Regions from separate parts of the Homo sapiens genome. Here region 2 is linked to region 1. Evidence: promoter capture Hi-C in human tissues and cell types (Jung and others, 2019). All regions are on one chromosome and are shown on one strand. Each heading gives the region's core, a stretch centred on a gene start or on the middle of the fragment in contact. The rest is flanking DNA. Distances are from core to core; before and after follow the strand shown.

Region 1 (4,498 bases), core at 612-3,111:
CCAAGGGCATATGGAGGACCTGTGGGGAGGACAGCCCACTTAAAAAGCAGAGAGCTAAGAAGTGAAGGGAGAACAGGTCTGCATAGCATTGAGGCACCTAGATTCAGCTGTACCTGAAATCCCCTCATGGATCTCAGTTAACATGATACAATAATGTGTGTGTGTGTGTGTGTCTATGCGTGCGTGCACTTAAGCCAGTTGGAGCTGTGTTTCTGTCACTTGCAAACCTAAGAATCTTGACTGGTAGATGATGATCTCATAGCTAATATTAGTAGATGGGATCTGAAGGCAGATCTGCTTAGCTCTCAGGGGCCCAATTTAGGATTTACTGGGAACAACCCAGAAGCCATCTTTTGAGTCCTGGTTCCCAGGTGGCAGCTGGGTTCTAACATGTTTTAATATATTCACCCTTGCTCTCTTTAAAGGTCAGTGCCAGCAAAGAAGGTGTAATGAGTGTGAATAAAGAAAGACAATTATTTAAATAGATCAGATTATTTCAGGAAGTGCTCCCTGTTATGAAACAAAACAAGCTTCCTAGGACTGAGGTTCCAATGTAGACCCAGACAAAGGACCCCCAAAATTCCCAGCAGATGAGGAAGAGACCTTCCCTGGGCCCCCTCCTGGGAGTTCCACCCCTTGGTTTCTGCCCAGCTCTACAAAGGCTGTGTAACCTTGTGGGGGAGGGGGGAAGGGGGGCAGCTGAACCTGCCTGAGCTGAACCTGTTTGTGCCCCTTTCCTCCACTGGGAAAATAATTTTATTTTAATTTCATTTCATTTTATTTATTTTATTTTTTCAGAGACAAGAGTCTTGCTCTGTCACTCAGGCTGGAGTGCAATGATGCTATCATAGCTCACTGCAGCCTCGAATTCCTGGCCTCACTCAAGCGATCTTCTCGCCGCCTCGGCTTCCCAAAGTGCTGGGATTACAGGGGTGAACCAGCATGTTCCGATGAAGTCTCAGGCCAAATGTCACCCCTGTCATCCTCTGGTTTCCACAGGGTAGCCAGCACCTTCTCACTCCCTCGGGCACTTTTGTTTATTTTAGAGCGTTTTCTTGCTGTGGAATCCTTCCCCCCACTTTTTTTTTTTTTTTTTTTTTTTTTGAGACGGAGTCTCACTCTGTCACCCAGGCTGGAGTACAGTGGCGCGATCTCGGCTCACGGCAGCCTCCGCCTCCCGGATTCAAGCGATTCTCCTGCCTGAACCTCCCGAACAGCTGGGATTACAGGCGCGTGCCACTACGCCTGGCTAATTTTTGTATTTTTAGTAGAGATGGGGGGCGGGGGGGGGGGTCTCACCATGTTGGCCAGGCTAGTCTCGAACTACTGACCTTAAATGATCCGCCCACTTCGGCCTCTCAAAGTGCTGGGATTACAGGCGTGAGACACTGCGCCCAGCCCCTTCCTTTTTTGATTCCCATTTTTACAAGGCTGTAAGCTTCACGAAGGACAGAAACCTTGTCCATCTTGTCAACTATGATTTCCCCAGCACTGTGGCTCCGACCTGGCACATGGTAGGTGCTCGGTGAATACTGGTTTGAACAGACGACTGCGGCAGACGGCAAGGGCCACTCCTGTGCCAGGGCCTGCCACGCCACCGCAGCTTGTGCGGTGGGGGTGGGGAGGACTGGACAGTCTGGCTGTGCGCCCTTTTCTCCTTTTCAACGTCCCAGTATAACTTCAAGGGAGCGCAACTCCAGAGGCTCCCTGGACGAAGCTACCGCCCCGGAATCAGGGCCTTCCCAATTCTGCCTTCGGGGAGGGAGGATGGGGGTGGGCCGCGGGAGGCCAGTTCCAAGAGCGTCCTGAAGTCCCTCCCGCCGCCCCGCGTCGCTTTAAGGCGGAGGCCCGGGAGGGGGCCGACCCGGCTCGCCAGCTCCACGCTCGGCTCCAGACTCCGGCATTTCCTCCCCGCTAGCTGGCGCGGCCTCGCCTCCCCCTCGGAAGAGGAAACTCCCGGGGTCCGAGTAACAGGGTCAGGCGCGGAGAGGAGCGGCGGGAGAGCCAGGAGGGCCGCCCAGGGTAGGAGGCGAGCCAGGCCGGGCCAGAAGCTGGCCGACGGCGGCGCGCGGGGGCGCCGGGCGGGGAGGGCCGCTGGGCCGGACTCAGCGCGCAGCCGGGGCAGGGCGCGGCCCGGGGCCCGAGAGCGCAGGGCGGGCCGCAGCTGGAAGGAACACTTGAGCTGGGAGAGGAGGCCGAGCTGGAGGGCGGCCTCCCTCGGGCCTGCGTTCGGGAAGCCGCCGCGGAGGAGGAGACGGGGACAGCGGGGCTGCCCGGGCGCTGTGCGCATGCTGGGCTTGGGTCGCCGCCGGGGCTTGCCCCCTGGGCTGCTCGGCCACCGCCGCCCCGGGCGCCCGGCATGTCGGTGCACTACACCCTCAATCTACGCGTCTTCTGGCCCCTGGTGACCGGCCTGTGCACCGCCCTGGTGTGCCTCTACCATGTCCTGCGGGGAAGCGGGGGCGCCCGGGCCGAGCCCGCCGACGGCGTGGATGGCGGCTTCCCGTTGCTTAAGGTGGCCGTCCTGCTCCTCCTCAGCTATGTCCTCCTGCGCTGTCGCCACGCTGTCCGGCAGCGCTTCCTGCCCGGGTCTCCCCGTCTGGAGGGTCACGCCGCCTTCTCCTCGAGACACTTCCGAGAGCCGGGCCTCAGCATCCTGCTGGAGAGTTACTACGAGCATGAGGTGCGCCTGTCTCCGCACGTGTTGGGCCACAGCAAGGCGCACGTGAGCCGGATCGTGGGCGAGCTGGTGCGGGCTGGCCGCGCCCGGGGGTCCCCCGGTCTCATTCCTGGGGGAGCGCTGGCCTTGGCCTTCCGCGGAGACTTCATCCAGGTGGGCAGCGCCTACGAGCAACATAAAATCCGCCGGCCCGACAGCTTCGACGTGCTGGTGCCACTGCGCCTCCCGCCGCTTGTGGCGCTGGAGCCACGGAGCCTGGGCGAGGAGCCAGCGCTGGCCCCGGCCTTCCGCGGCTGCTTCTTGTGCGCCCTCAAGGCACCACCCTCACCATCGGGGGCCTCGGGGGGCCACTGGCTTCGGGACTGCAAACCCTTTGCTGATGCCTTCTGCGTGGATGTGCGCGGGCGGCGTCACCTCTCTGCTACTCTGGTGCTGCGCTGGTTCCAGTCGCATCTGCAGCGCTCCTTGGCCACTGTGCGTTACAGCCTGGAGGGGCGCTGTCGGGTCACCTTGACCCCAGGTGGCCTGGAACAGCCCCCCACCTTACACATCTTGCCCTGCCGCACTGACTACGGCTGCTGCCGCCTTTCTATGGCTGTGCGTCTCATCCCCGCTGTCCATCTGGGAGATGGGGTCTTCCTTGTGGCGCCACCACCGCCACCCTTGCCCAGCGCGCCCCTGTTGGAGCTCCCTGAGGGCCTGCGTGCGGAGGCACTGTGGGGTGTGAACACAGCACGCCAGGAGCAGAAGCTGCTGAGTTGGCTGCAGGAACGGGCAGCTCCAGGTGCCTGCTACCTCAAGTGCCTGCAGTTGCTTAAGGCTCTGCGCGATCTGGGGGCCCGTGGGCTGGACTCAGCGGCCGCCACCCAGTGGGGACGCATCCTATCCTCATATGTGCTCAAGACAGTGCTGCTGGCAGTGCTGCTGCGCAAGGGGGCCCCTGGGCAAGGCTGGGACGAGGAGCACCTGGGAAGGTGTTTGGAGGAGTTGGTGCAGTTCCTTAGGGACTGCCTGCTGCGACGCCATACGCTCTTCCACTGCGTCCTGGGCCCTGGTGGGGCGGCTGCCGAGGTGGGTCCCCTGCCCAAGGCACTGAGGGAAGCCGCCCCAGTTGACCTCCTGGCCGCTTTCGACGGGCACGCCCGGGAACTTGCAGCAGCGCGGTTGCTGTCCACGTGGCAAAGGCTGCCCCAGCTTCTCCGGGCCTACGGGGGTCCCCGCTACCTTGCCAGGTGCCCCCCACCCCGGAGTCAGCGCACCCAGGGCTTCCTTGAAGGTGAACCGTAAACCCTGACAGCACCCCCACCTGACCAAATGCTCCTAAAGCCTTTCCCACTGGGTGGGGGTGGGAATGGCGGTGAAGCCAGTTAAATGCAAGATTGCAGAAGGCATTGGAAAATTTGGTGGCTGCCACAAGCTTTAGTGGCTTAAATATCACCTTCTCGCTTCACAGTCCAGTATAATATGACATCTTCACACCCACTAGAGTGTCCTGGGCAAACCATGGGAAGACATCCAACAGGAGACCCAAGAATTGGTTCAAATATTGTTCTGTGTAGACGGATTCTGTAGAAGGATGTGGCTTTTAGAGAAGTCCAGTAGAAGAAGCAAGAACTAGCTGCAGGGAAAGTTCCTTCTGTCGGTTTTTAGACACAGATCTCTCTGCCCAAATTAAAAAAAAACAAAACAAAACACTAAAGTTTTTGACACAATTACTTGCTAGGTACTGGGTTCCTGATTGTCTTTAAAAAGAAAAATCTGAATCTTTATTTGCAACTGGAATTGAAGTTCTATTTTAGGGGCTAATGTTTAGAGGAA
Region 2 (4,498 bases), core at 570-3,069, 140 kb after region 1:
TCTCAATGGCTTTCCTTTGGTTGGGAGAGGGGAGGCTTCGGTTTTAATGAAGGGAACTCCCATCGTTGCTGCTTTTCCCTTAAGGCAGAGGTTTTCTACCTCCACACTTACACTGATATTTGGGGCTGGATTATTCTTCACTGTAGGGCCTGTCCTGTGCATTGTAGGATGGGGGGCAGCATCCCTGAGCTCTACCCGCTAGAGGCCAGCAGCACCCCTCCCTCCAAGACATGACAATCAAAAATGCCTCCAGATTGTGGGGTAAAATTGGCCCCTGTTGAAAACAAATGCATTAAAAAATTCAGGCCAGGCACGGTGGCTCACACCTGTAATCCAACACTTTGGGAGGCTGAGGAGAGTAAGATTGCTTGAAGCCAGGAGTCCAAGATCAGCCTGGACAACATAGCAAGACCCCATGTCTAAAAAAAAAATTAATTAGCTGGGCGTGGTGAGGTGCCCCTGTAGTCCCAGCTACTCAGGAACCTGAGCCAGGAGGATCACTTGAGCCCAGGAGGTTGAGGCTGCAGTGAGCTATAATCATGCCACGCCACTGCACTCCACTGTACTCTCTTAAAATAAAAATTAAATAATTCGTTCTAAGCCAATATTGCCTGCAGACCACGACAAAGAGGGCTTCTACCTTGGGCCTCATGCTGTAAATGGGAGGAGGCAAGAAATTCATGGAGTGAGGAGTCCAGGCATCAAGGAGCCCACATCTTCCTTGCTAGATCATCTCCACATACTGGGATCCCAGAATTTCCCACCCAAACAGCCCAAGCCTATTTCCAGGATCTGCTCAAGGCTGGTCTAGGTCAGTCCCCAGGACGATGCATCATGCTATCAGTGTGTGCCCTCTAGGCTCAAGGAAATAATAAAATAGAGGTAATCATAGTACAAACCTCATAGATTTGTTGTGCGGATTAAATTTGTGTACTGAAATCCACAGGACAGGGCTGGTATGTGATAAGCACTATAGAACTGTTGGGTGCTATCATTGTATTTTTCATAGCAACAGTCTTTAATATAGGACATCTTCCCTCCTTATCTGCTGCTTGACTGAACAGGGAGCCACTCATTCAAAAGTCAGAGCCAATCCTGACCATGCTGGACCCTAGAGAGATGGCGAGAAGGGCCTCAACATGGCGCCTTTATGAGGATTTTCACGGGACTTTCCAGGGCCATTCTGACTGTTGGCCTTTTCCCTTATATGCTGGTTGAGGTTTTAACCCCTCTTCAAACACACACACACACACACACACACACACACACACACACACACACGTACCATACATCTCTATTACCCAATCTGGCCCTTATCACAGGAGAGGGTCAAGGGAAGTAGGAAATGGGTGAGTCTATTATTATTATTATTATTATTATTATTATTATTATTATTGAGGCAGGGTCTTACTCTTTCGACCAGGCTGGAGTGCAGTGGTATGATCATGCCTCACTGCAATCTCAACCTCCGGGGCTCAAGCAGTCCTCCCGCCTCAGCCTCCCAAGTAGCTGGGACCACAGGCGTGCACCAACATGCCCAGCTACTTTTTAAATTTTTTTATAGAGACAGTCTCATTATGTAACCCAGGCTGGTCTTGAATTCCTGGGCTCAAGCGATCCTCCCACCTTGGCCTCTCGAAGTGCTGGGATTACAGGCATAAGCCACTGTGCTTGGCCTCTTCTTTTTGAGATAAAGGAAGAAATTAGGCTGGACTTTGAGTTTCAATTTCTACTATGCCTCGTGCTGGCTGGGTGGCTTTGAGCACTCAACCTCTTAACTTCTCCGAGCCTCAAATTCCCCATCTGCAAAATGGCAATAAAAATAGGGCTGTGATATGGATTTAAGTTTAAAAAAGAAAAACAACAACATATATAAAGTGCTTTTCTCAGTTCGTAGTACACAGACCTCAAGATTTGCTGTTACTGATTTTTAATTATTATAATAAAGTTAACTGAATCGTCATTATGACTGTTGGAAGGAAAAACATGAAAAAAAAGTTCTGTCCCAGCAGCTGCTGTGAATCACGAAGTGAGCCAGAAAAGCTTGAAAAACATCACCCTTAAGTCATGGATGAAACTTCTTAGAACCAAAGAAATGTCATAGCTAAAAAAGAACTCAAAATCTACATATACCCGCTCATTGTATAAAGGGGGAAACTGAGGCCCAGGGAAGGGATATGATGTACCTTGTTTTGCAAAAAAAAAAAAAAGAAAAACCTGAAAAAGCTTCTAGGTTTCTGAAAGAAGAAAAAAAAGAGAGTGCTCCAGTGAGAAGAGGTTTTGCAAAAGTTGGAAAGACAATGAGGACCACCTGCGTTGCAGTGTGTCAGAGCTGCCCTGTAGGAAGAAAGAAAAGGGGAAGAAGCAGGCCTGTGTAGACTGCGTTATGTCTCCTCCAACAGTTAAGCTAACTCATGAACACCCTGATGATGGGCTGTGGGGACCTCTCGGCCATGAGGAAGTAGGCAGGACTATGAAACAGCCCAGGGTGGTCTTGCTGGCTTTGTGCATTTTTTCTTTTCAGGAACAGGGGAACATCTTAACCCAGCATCAAAGAGGTAGATCGCCGGGTACAGTGATGAGGTTTCGGGGTGCCAGCCATAATCTGGGGGTGTCCCTGCACTGTGCTGTCAGACTCAGAGTTGCATATGGGAGCAGTGAGAGCCTAGGGCACAAATGAGAGTCCTTCATTACCTTGTGAACCAAATATGCAAAATGAGAAGCTGTTGAGTCTGCTCCCATTGGTAAAGATGTTTTTTTTTTTTCCTTTTAATTTGCAGTGTTTATTACACCCACATTCTAAGTCATCCAGCTTCCCTTCCAGAACCGTCTGCCTTGGCAAACTAAATTAGCGACCAAATAATTTAGCTCCTATGGTGAGGAACAAATTCGTTTTTACAGCAAATATCAACAGGTGAAAGCCTCAGTTTGTCCCTGACTCCTTCAGGGTACTTAGGTTTTGACTGGAGCAGTGAGTGATCTCCCTTCACCCTCTAGAACTCACTCTTCTCAGCTGTAAAATGAGCCAGTGAAAGCAACTGCCTTAAAGCACTTCTCAAATGTGGGAGGTGGGGGGCGGGAAGGGTGGCAATTGTGTCCCCAGGGTACATCTGGCAATGTCTAGAGATACTTTTGGCAGTCACAAGGGAGATAGAGGAGGCCAGGCACGGTGGCTCACGTCTGTAACCCCAGCACATCAGGAGGCTGAGGCAGGCGAATCACCTGAGGTCAGGTGTTCGAGACCAGCCTGGCCAACATGGTGAAACCCCGTCTCTACTAAAAAACACAAAAATTAGCCAGGCATGGTGGTGCATACCTGTAGTCCCAGCTACTCAGGAGGCTGAGGCAGGAGAATCACTTCAACCCGGGAGGCGGAGGTTGCAGTGAGCTGAGATCATACCACTGCACTCCAGCCTGGGCGACAGAGCAAGACTCCATCTCAAAAATAAAATAAAATAAAATAACAGAAACAGGGGAGATGGAGGAATTGCTACTGATATTTAGTGTGAGATGATAGGAGCTACCAAGCATTTTAGAGTGCCTAGGACAGCACCGCAAAACACAGAATGATCTGGCCCATAATGTCAGCAGTATCAAGGGTGAGAAACCCTGCTCTGGAGGCTTGATGTGATGATTAAATGAGTCAATCCACTGACGTCCTTAGCCCTGGCCCTAATACACAGTAGGTGCTTAATAAACTGATCTTTATCCCAGGCTCCTTCAAAGCCTGATCTTTGAGCCCTGGTGGATGCCTCCTACCACACTTTTGTTTCCTGGTTGTGTTTCCCCAACTTGAATTGCTATGATACGGTGGAAATAGATATGTTGATAACTCTACAGGTAAGTTGGGTCTCAAATTCCTAAAAGTGGAATAGGCAGGGTGTGTCCATGCATTGTCTGAAGAAGGGAACTGGACTTCTGGGTACTTGCCTGTCCCCAGAGGGTAGCCTTAGGGTGCTGGAGATTAAGCGAAATCAGAAGAGAAAACATTAGAGCAAGGTACCGTGCAAGGTGTTACTCTATAGTCATTGGAGGAGGAGAACTAAAAGCATTTTGTGAGAGTAAAGTTTCCACTTACTGATCCCTTTCCCCATAAGTTTTAAACAAGGCTTAACATTTTTTAACTGTGTTTGCTACCAAAATTCCCATACTTCCTTTGATCCATTCAGCAGGCATCCTAATGGATTCATGATCATAATTATAAAAATAAATGATCACACTGCAAATAGCCGCCAGCCCTGTGAAGGAGGAAAATGTTATTTGCCTCTTCACCAAATGGTTCCATTCTATTGTAGTTTTTTGAGTTCTTGTATCTGTCTGGTACTCACAATCCACTATATTAAGTTACTCCAGATGGGAAAACCAGATGACTGAGTTTATTTGAATTATGTCTAAATCCATGAGCATTAAATAGGTTCTTAGAGAAAGCCCTCTTCATGGATTTTGTACATAGACTTGTGACATCAATTCTGAATGTTTTGATTTTTTTTTTTTTCTT

The links. Contacts are between HindIII fragments. The study calls those that stand out against the background at their distance.
Region 2: a contact is called between a fragment that was not itself captured here and the fragment with the promoter of ITPRIPL2 in region 1, in 2 of the 25 tissues and cell types used here (aorta and spleen).

What each region holds. Positions count from the first base shown.
Region 1 is chr16:19,112,103-19,116,600 of GRCh38, forward strand. ITPRIPL2 (ITPRIP like 2) reads left to right here and starts at 1,862. Exons shown (of 1, transcript NM_001034841.4): 1 at 1,862-4,498. The coding sequence starts at 2,360. The coding sequence ends at 3,967. RefSeq lists silencers at 1,864-1,963, 2,054-2,423. The HindIII fragment of the contact is 3,376 bases long and covers 985-4,360 here.
Region 2 is chr16:19,255,201-19,259,698 of GRCh38, forward strand. All of the region lies in intron 7 of SYT17 (synaptotagmin 17), which reads left to right. Among named protein-coding and RNA genes, the nearest start is that of CLEC19A, 28 kb to the right of the region's middle. The HindIII fragment of the contact is 5,357 bases long and covers 1-4,498 here.